Linked DNA regions of Homo sapiens: all the other regions are linked to region 1. The links are contacts of gene promoters, found by promoter capture Hi-C in blood cells and fetal thymus (Javierre and others, 2016). All regions are on one chromosome and are shown on one strand. The core of a region is centred on a gene start or on the middle of the fragment in contact, and the rest is flanking DNA. Distances in the headings are between cores, read along the strand shown.

Region 1 (2,881 bases), core at 217-2,716:
TCAGGAGCATGGAGGTGATGTGCTGTGACACGAGTGGTGGAATGCTTCACTGGAGAAGGGGATGTGTCCTGTGCTGTCCCTGTGCTCGCCACCCACACTCCCCTCCCAGAGGAGGCACGGTGCCCAGCCTGCAAACTCACCCCAGTCACCCAGCCAGCGGAGAATGTCATACAGGTGCTTCTCCTTCATCATAGCATCTTTGGAGAAGGAGGCAATTTTTTCCAGCAAGATGAATCTCTTCTTGCCCTTTGGATCTCTCTGCTGAGATTTGGCATTTTCTTTTAAATCATATCCTAATTCTTCCTGGAAGCGGTTGATGACACAATTGACATTGTCCAAAATGTCTGAGAGCTGGGTAGAAATATCCTATAGAGAAGCAGCAGATTGTAGTGTTAGGGCTGTGGACTTGAGCCAGAAGCCACATGCTAGCAGCGTGACCTTGGACAAGTCGCTTAGCCTCTTTGGGTCTCAGTTTTCTTATATTTAAAGTGGGAATCATTATAGTACCTATGTCACAGGGTTTCTGTAAGGATTAAATGAATTAAATATTTTAAAGTGCTTTTAATAGTACCTGGCACATTACACAAAAGTGGTAGCTTTTATTATCATTGTGATTATTAAGAAGGTCAAGAAAGTATAGAACACCAAAACCCCACAGCAAACATTTCTTTAGAATTTCAGAGGTTGCTGGGGGTTTCTGGATGTCTTTCCTCACAAGGATCCACAGGCAACAGAAGCTTGGAAAAGTGAGGCCCCAAGAAACTCTAGGATCAGAGGCTCAAGTAAAAAATGTACTAGAGCCTCGTGTACAGGGTGATTTGAGCCTTTGGACATTTCCCCAACCCCTATGAACTTCCTGGGCTCAGCTTGGGGGATTCTGGAGGGTTGCCAAGAACAGATTCTGGGTCCTTTCTCCTGCCCTCTAAAACCCACCACACCACCACGATGTGCCTCAGGGCTATCCTCGAGCTTCCTGCCCCCTTCCCGGGCCCCAGCCCTGCCTCAGGCGGGTGGTTGCTTTCAGCTCACCCTGTATATGCCAAGTTTAGGAGAGAGATAATTTATACTAATCTGTCTGCAGACCCAGGTTGCTGAATATCCCAGGGCCTCTGAGGACCCAGAGCTGGAATCTCACTCAAACCTGGGATCAGCCCCCAGTCTCCGCATCAGATCCCAATGTAAGAGTGATTCCTTCATCTCAGGGGCTACCTCTTGAGCCCGAGTTAGCTGGGCAGCCTCAATCCTCAGGATGATGGCTTTCACTGATGTGGGAGTCACCAACTGTGGGGGGTCATCCTTCTCCATTTTGGATCACTCTGTCAGTCACAAAACATCCTGTGTTTCTGGTCCACAGGCCTGGACACACAATGTTGCCTGCTTTGGAGGTTAAGGGCACCAGGGTGTCTCCTGGGTACCCTCTGCCCAGGCACAGCTCCTCTGGTAACTGCCAAACACCAGGTTCCAACTGATCCTCTTTTCCCCAGTGACATCATCAGTTTGATTAGAAGAATTAGGAGATGAGACTCCCCACTATCTAGCTTTTTGTCCATTACCTAACATATATTTACTTGACTTGTTGCCTTTTCTTTTTTTTTTTTTTTTTTTGAGACGGAGTCTCCCTCTGTAGCCCAGGCTGGAGTGCAGTGGTGTGATCTCGGTCACTGCAACCTCCACTTCCTGGGTTCAAGTGATTCTCCTGGCTCAGCCTCCTGAGTAGCTGGGATTACAGGTGCGTGCCACCACGCCTGGCTAATTTATTTTTTGTATTTTTAGTAAAGACGGGGTTTCACTGTGTTAGCGAGGATGGTCTCGATCTCCTGACCTCGTGATCCACCCACCTTAGCCTCCCAAAGTGCTGGGATTACAGGTGTGAGCCACCGTGCCCGGCCTACTTGTTGCTTTTTAAAAATTACTAAATGTTATGCTCCCAAACAAAACATTAATGTCTACAAATAAGAAAAAGCAATTAGCAAAAGTTATTTTCCTGAATAAAATATTTTAAATTTGTAAAAATTAGAGCCAATCAATAACCAAATGGAAGCCAGGCTCAGTGGCTCACGCCTGTAATCCCAACAATTTGGGAGGCTGAGGTGGGAGGATCACTTGAGCCCAGGAGTTTGAGACCAGCCTGGGCAACATGGTGAGAGCCTAGCTCTACAAAAAAATTTAAAAAATAGCCAGGCATGGTGGCGCATGCCTGGGATCCCAACTACTTGAGAGGTTGAGATGGGAGGATCACTTGAGCCCAGGAGGTCAAGGCTGCAGTGAGCCATGTTCACGCCACTACACCCCAGCCTAGGTGATAGATACCCTGACACACACACACACACACACACACACACACACACACACACAAACATACAGAGGGAGGAACATCCCATAATGCTAAAGATGTCAATTAATAAGGAGAACATAATTCTAAATGTGTATATACCTAATAACATTGCTTCAAAATACATGAAGTAAAAAGCTTCCAGAACTGAAAGGAGGAATAGGTAAATCCAAAATTATAGTTGGAGATTCCAGCACTTCTCTTGCAGGAGTTGATAGAAGTAGCAAAAAATAAAAAGTATAGAGGTTTTGAAAAATACTATCAACCAACTTGACTCCATTGACAGTCATAGAACACTTCACCCAACAACAGGACACATATTATTCCCTACGCATATGGAACAATGATCATATAAACCATAATTTGGGCCATAAAACAAGTATCAATTACCCTAAGAAGTCTAAAATAATACAAAATATGTTCTCTGACCACTATGGTATTAAACTATAAATCAATAATTGAGAGATCTTTGGAAAATTCCCAAATATTTTACAAATTAAGCAACATACTTCCATATAACCCTGAGTCAAAAAAGAAATCACAGGGAAA
Region 2 (2,881 bases), core at 106-2,605, 330 kb before region 1:
AGGCTGCAGTGCAATGGCACCATCATAGCTCACCCCCACCTTGACCTGGGCTAAGCCATCCTCCCACCTCAGCCTCCCAAGTAGCCAGGACTACAGGTGTGTTCCACCATGCCTGGCTGATTCTTGTAATTTTTTTTTTTTTTTTTTTTTTTTTTTTTGGTAGAGATGGGGTTTTGCCATGTTGCTTAGGCTGGCCTTGAACTCCTGGGCTCAGGCAATCCTGCCTCAGCCTCCCAAAGTGCTGGGATTACAGGAGTGAGCCACTACACCTGGCCCCTAGATACGTTTTTTAATAACCTCCCAAATGATGCTGTTGGTCTGATGTGACCACATGTACAGTAGCAAAGGGTTAGATAACAGTAACTGCTGGAGCCAAAATTCAAGTGCCCAGCCACACTGCCAGAACTATTGCTGTCAGTCTTTAATAAAGTATTAGTCACACGAGAAGGGCTTGGAATCCTGATTTATTCCATACTTAGCTAAGACCTACAGTGGCAAAGATGGTTCGTACTAAAGGGGTTATTGTTTAGAGAAAGTGGAAATGTCAGACAAAATAACAGTCACCGGTTTTTCTGGTATTGGCATTTGACCCAATTGTATGTCATGGAGATTATTTGAAGTAGGAGTAATATGTATGTGTAGGAAAGATTGGAGAGGGGTGAGTTCTCTGATTTGGACTTTTTTCCAAGCACCTGTTGGAGGACCGTGGTTCTTGGGGGCAGACGGGTGAAGGGGCATGAGTGTTATACGTAGCTGGAGAGCTTGGTGCCTGGTACTCAGTTGAACTAAGCAATGGGAAAGGACAATGACCAAAAGGTGAAGCTTCATGCAGAAGGGAGGAATCAGTTTTGGTGCTTGGGTGCTTGCCTGAGTGGGAATGCCTAATGAGTGGTAGCAGATGGGCCCTGGGGGCAGAGTTGCAGGCATACTCACCTCTCCTCCGTGACTTACTTTATTCTGATGTGTACCCAGTTACCATCTCTTTCCCAAAGGTGTTTTGTATCCCTTACCCATTGCTCACTTTAGCCCCTTTGCTCTGAGAATTGCATCTGAAAGATGTGCATGTTTAAGGCCAGCGCTGGGGTTCACAGCTGCAGTCCCAGCACTCTGGGAGGCCAAGGTGAGAGGATTGCTTAAACCCAAGAGTCTGAGACCAGTGCCTGGGCAAGAGGGTGAGACCCTGTCTATTTTGAGCATTTTTTTGGCCGGGTACCATGGCTCACGCCTGTAATCCCGGCACTTTGGGAGGCTGAAGCAGGTGGATCACTTGAGCTTAGGAGTTCAAGACCAGCCTGGGCAATATGGTGAAACCCCATCTCTACTAAAAATACAAACAATTAGCTGGGCATGGTGGTGCACGTCTGTGGTCCCAGCTGCTTGAGAGGCTGAAGTGGGAGGATTGCTTGAGCCTGGGAGGTGGAGGTAGCAGTGAGCTGAGATCGTGCCACTGCCCTCCAGCCTAAGGGACAAAAAATTTTTTTCCCTTAAATTTTTTTTTATGTCTCAAATTTTTTTAAATGTATATATTATACCTGCGTGCATAGCACAGCATGCTTTTGCAGCCTGAGATGCCTCAACTATGTGCTCTGGATGGTTTTATATAGCATTTGTCGAGAGCAACCATAGTTTTATGTCCTTCGGGGCAAGGTAAGACCCCAGCACAAATTCAGCCACTGCTACTTCTCAGATGAGCCAGGTTCTTCCTGCAGCCTGGGCAGGGGAGCGGGGTGGGATGCCTGAAATGAAGGTGAACCTTGAAGACGCTGGCTAGCCTGCCAGAGGGGATTTTGAGACCTTCCCAGGCCAGGAGATCTGCTGATTGCCATAGTGCAAGCACTGGAGGAAATGGGAATGGGACACCCGTGTATGAAAAGGAGCAGATAAATCACAAAGCTTAGGCGAGTGTGACACCCCATGACACCAGCATTTCCCAAGCAGGGTGCCCTGAGAATAGGATTCAGGGTGCCCATATAGGATCCCTTCGGCTTTTAGAATGACATGGTGGAAACTGGAGAGCCTGACTCACCCATCCTCCCTGGGGCCAGTCACCCTGGCCAGGAGTAGCCCCCTCCATTTACCTCTGTACACCTTACAGATGAATTATTTTCTACATGTGCCAAGATGTGAAAAAGGTTGGAAAGCTTTAAGCAGCCACAGAGGTCTGGGGTGAAAGAAGGTGAGAGAAAAGTTTAGCTGAGAAGAAATATTCCAGTAGAATAAAGCCTGGGGAATTGGAAGAGCAAAGTGCCAGTGGTTGGGGGGGCATTTGTCCTTGTAAAGATGATTTCCCCCTCCTGCGTTGGAGGGAGAGTGAATAGAAGTTAGCCTGCAGCAAGAACAAATATACCCCAAGGTCTAGGTCACTGCTTTGTGGCTGACAATCATCTGATCTGCCCTTGAGCACGAATGGAAAGTCTGGACCCAGAGCTGCGACTGATGCTGATGCTGAGGCCGCTGAAGCTTGATGGGAATAAATGCACACAGCCTAAGAGGATTCGGGCTCCTGAGGCTGGCGGCAGCCCCAGGTCCGGCTGTGTGGACAGAGGGCTTAGTCTGCCCTCACCTAACCTGGCCAGAGGAGCAACCTGCTTCCCCCCACAGAGGCCGCTGACCACTGAGAGGTTAGCATGTCTGGGCAGAGGTGTTTTGGGCAGGGATGAGAAGGGGGATAATGACTTTGAGGGGCTAAGGGCCTGCCTGTCCACCTGTCATTCTGTGTTTGGGAAGCAGCTGGCAAGTGACTCTTCTCCAGCAGGAATCTGTCAGGCCAGAGGATGGCCAAGTGGGTTATGCAATTACAAATCAGTCTTCAGGCCTCTGCTGGAAGGTGGTGTGGCAGTCCTGGGTGAGGCTGAAGGAGGTCAGGGGAGGCGCTGTCAGG
Region 3 (2,881 bases), core at 137-2,636, 260 kb before region 1:
TCCTGGCTTCCTTCTCAGTTCCCTAGAGGAGACAAATGGCACCCAAGGCAGTGGAAGAGTGAGAGAGGCAGGCCAGGAGTGGGCAGTGAGATTTGAATGGCTTCCGGGAGCCTTTTGTATGTGAGGCCAAAAGGGTTGGGTCTTGGCTCCGTGTATCCCCCAACCCCCACCCTGACACTGTTAAGCATGATGCCCAACAGGTGCTCAACTGTTGGCTAAAGGATGGCCAAAGTTAGTTTCAGAGAACAACCGTCCAGATGGAGGAAGAGAGGGCAGAGAAAAAGGAAGGCAAAGGAAAACGAAGCGAGTCAAGGAAAATTTGCTTAAGGGACAAAAGGGAAGCCTGAAGCCGGCTGTTCTCCGACTGCAGCTGGGAAAACCGTCCCAGCCCAAGAACCTGCTCATGGTTTGCCTCCTTGCAGAGACTACCCTCCTGCCTCTGCCATCACGGCCAGGCCCAGGGCTCCCACTCATCAGCCAGTGCCTCTGGCACCAAAACTCAGTGCAACCTTAAGTTCAAAGTATCGCACCAGGGTCCACAGGGCTGAAGACAAGCTCCTGGCTTCTCAGAGAGTGGGTAAAGACTGCTTCCAAGGTGTCTGCCAGGTCAGAGCTGTTGCTGACTTACTTCGGCAGCCCTCCACCCCTGGCCAGGTGCTGCTCCTAGCCTTTGACTCCTCCACCTCCCTTTGTGCCCCCCTCTGCCTCCACCGCTTGCCAGCTCCAGCCTCCAGTTAATGAAATGTGGGGATCGGCTGCACAGAGAGCTGTCAGACCCCTCATTTCTCCTCTGGGATATTGACTCCGGGTCTGGGAGACCCACAGGTGAAAGGAGGCGGGTGGGGTGCGGGAAGTTGAGGTAGGGGCGCATACTGATGAGAGCCCCGAGACCAGGAGGTAGTGCTAAGCTCCAAGTCTCGAGGGCTCGGCTAAGCGAGGAAGGCCCTAGGATGCTCTTTCTGCTTGGGGTCCCCAGCTTTTCTCTGACGAGCAGGACACTTAACGAGCCCCAACCCACCGCACCCGGACCTGGACCCCGAACTAGCACCCCAGGCGGGCTGGACTTCAGTGAGCGCCGCGCGCAGCGCCTCGGAGCCAGAGACCGCTGCCCGGTGCTTCCTCCCATCTTCTTCCATCCCTTCCCTCTTGCTCCCCCTCCCTCCTGCACTCCCTCCCCGGCGGCCGCGGCCTTTATTAGGGATTCCGCGGCTGTCGGTCCCGCCATCCATCCTGTCCGCCGGCAATTAGGCGGCCAGACAAAGAGCAGCTTCGGATGGATGAGGGTCCCAGCGGATCGGAAATGTGAAGGGTCAGCGCTGCCGCCCGCGGCGCACCCCGCTCCCCCTTCCGCATAATCACCGGCCGCCCGTCACTCAGCCGGCCGCCCAGGGAGCTCCTGGGCCCGGCCCGGGAGAGGGCGGGGTGCGGCTGCAGCCTAGGCGCCCAGGACAGGGCGAGGGCGGACCTGCGGCAGGAGCGCCTCCTGCGGGGCAGTGGAGGACTGTGGCCTGAGGCATTGGCCGAAGGGTGGGGGATTATGGCCCCGGGCACTCCCCGAAGGGAAACTGGGGCTAGCGGCTTGGGGCCTCCCAGTGGGGAAGAGGGAACAAAAGCTGCGGAGACCGGAGGCCCGGGGTCCAGGGCGCCCCCTGCTGGGAAGCTGGGAACCAAGCCTTAGAGGTCCGGCAGGTACAGATGGAACCAGGCCCAGGGCGACCCCTCCTAGGGAAACCAAGGGTTTCTAGCCTGGCGCGCCTCCTGCCGGCTTTGAATGACACTGCGCTTCTATGCCCGCTCCGTTCAGTGAAATCCAACCAATCCGCATCCGCTCAAAAAAGGCTCCAAGTCCTGGCGAACCCGAGGGGAGCCGAGAGGGAGTTCAAGGAGTCCAGGTTTTACTGCAGATTCTTTGGCGCTAGCTCCCAGCTGACAAATCAACATCTCAATCTGACAATTAGTGGTCAAGATGCGGGGTGAGGGGCTCTTACAGCCCCGGCCGCTTAGCCCTCCCGGCGGGAGGCAGAGGGGTGGGCGGTGCTGGCAGTGATGAACGACTCCAGGGGGGCCCGTGGCCCCGAGCGCGCATTCATTACTCGACTGACAGGCGGGTGGCGGGCCGGGCGGGCTGCGAGTGGACGTGCCGGGAAAGAGGCCAGTAGCAGGAGGGGACTAAGGCAAGCGTTTAACAGTCCCACTGCTCCATCTGCTCCCGGTCCTTCGCCTTGACCCTGGGACTTGACTTCCTTGAGCTCGGCCTCCCAGTTGTTGGAGCTGGCCCTGGCTGGGAAGCAAGGGCGGGGACCTAAGCCCTCTTCTGGGGTTAGGTGATTTAAGGTCTGAGATGTCAAGGAAGGGTATTAGGCAGGTCTCAAGACTAGGCGATTCGGCCTGACCTCTGAGAGATTGTGCGTGACTGTGCACTCAGAGATGGCGTGTATGACAGGGATTGATGAATGTGGATCGCACGTGGGAGGTCAGTGACTGTGTGTGTCAGTACCAGGTATGTGTCAGTATGATTTTGTCAGTGGAGGTGTGAGATTCCCTCTGAGGATGAGCCACCACCCCTCCCTGTGTGTCCGTCTCCCCACTACCCCCCAGCTGGCTGTCAGCTCTGTCTCCAGTTATGGAGGAAATGGCAGTGCGCACGGTGACAGCTGAGGTGTGCTGCTGGGGTGGGGGGTGGGGGTGGTGCTAGATGTTAACTGTGAGAGTGCTGGTCAGGACAGCTGCTCCCTTCCAGCACCTTCACCACTAACATCCCTACCCCAAGGGTTTTGAAAGTAGTGGATTTTTTTTTTTTTTTTTTTTTTTTTTTTTTTTTTTTTTTTTTTTGGCCAAAGTTTGGACACCTAGTTGCTGTGCCCTGGGGAACAAAGTGATT

The links. Contacts are between HindIII fragments. The CHiCAGO score rates a contact against its expected background, and 5 or more counts as called.
Region 2: a contact is called between a fragment that was not itself captured here and the fragment with the promoter of FAM186B in region 1, in 1 of 17 cell types (endothelial precursors). The highest score is 7.5, in endothelial precursors.
Region 3: a fragment that was not itself captured here is called in contact with the fragment with the promoter of FAM186B in region 1 in 1 of 17 cell types (endothelial precursors); the score reaches 6.1 in endothelial precursors.

Annotation. Positions count from the first base shown.
Region 1 is chr12:49,604,173-49,607,053 of GRCh38, forward strand. FAM186B (family with sequence similarity 186 member B) reads right to left here and starts at 1,467. Exons shown (of 7, transcript NM_032130.3): 1 at 1,210-1,467; 2 at 141-366. The coding sequence starts at 1,305. The HindIII fragment of the contact is 1,733 bases long and covers 736-2,468 here.
Region 2 is chr12:49,274,157-49,277,037 of GRCh38, forward strand. It overlaps TUBA1C (tubulin alpha 1c), which reads left to right. Exons shown (of 4, transcript NM_032704.5): 4 at 1-444. Among named protein-coding and RNA genes, the nearest start is that of TUBA1C, 11 kb to the left of the region's middle. RefSeq lists a silencer at 1-124. The HindIII fragment of the contact is 1,071 bases long and covers 821-1,891 here.
Region 3 is chr12:49,340,950-49,343,830 of GRCh38, forward strand. No RefSeq gene overlaps it. Among named protein-coding and RNA genes, the nearest start is that of DNAJC22, 4.5 kb to the right of the region's middle. RefSeq lists a silencer at 1,280-1,419 and an enhancer at 1,621-2,132. The HindIII fragment of the contact is 8,852 bases long and covers 1-2,881 here.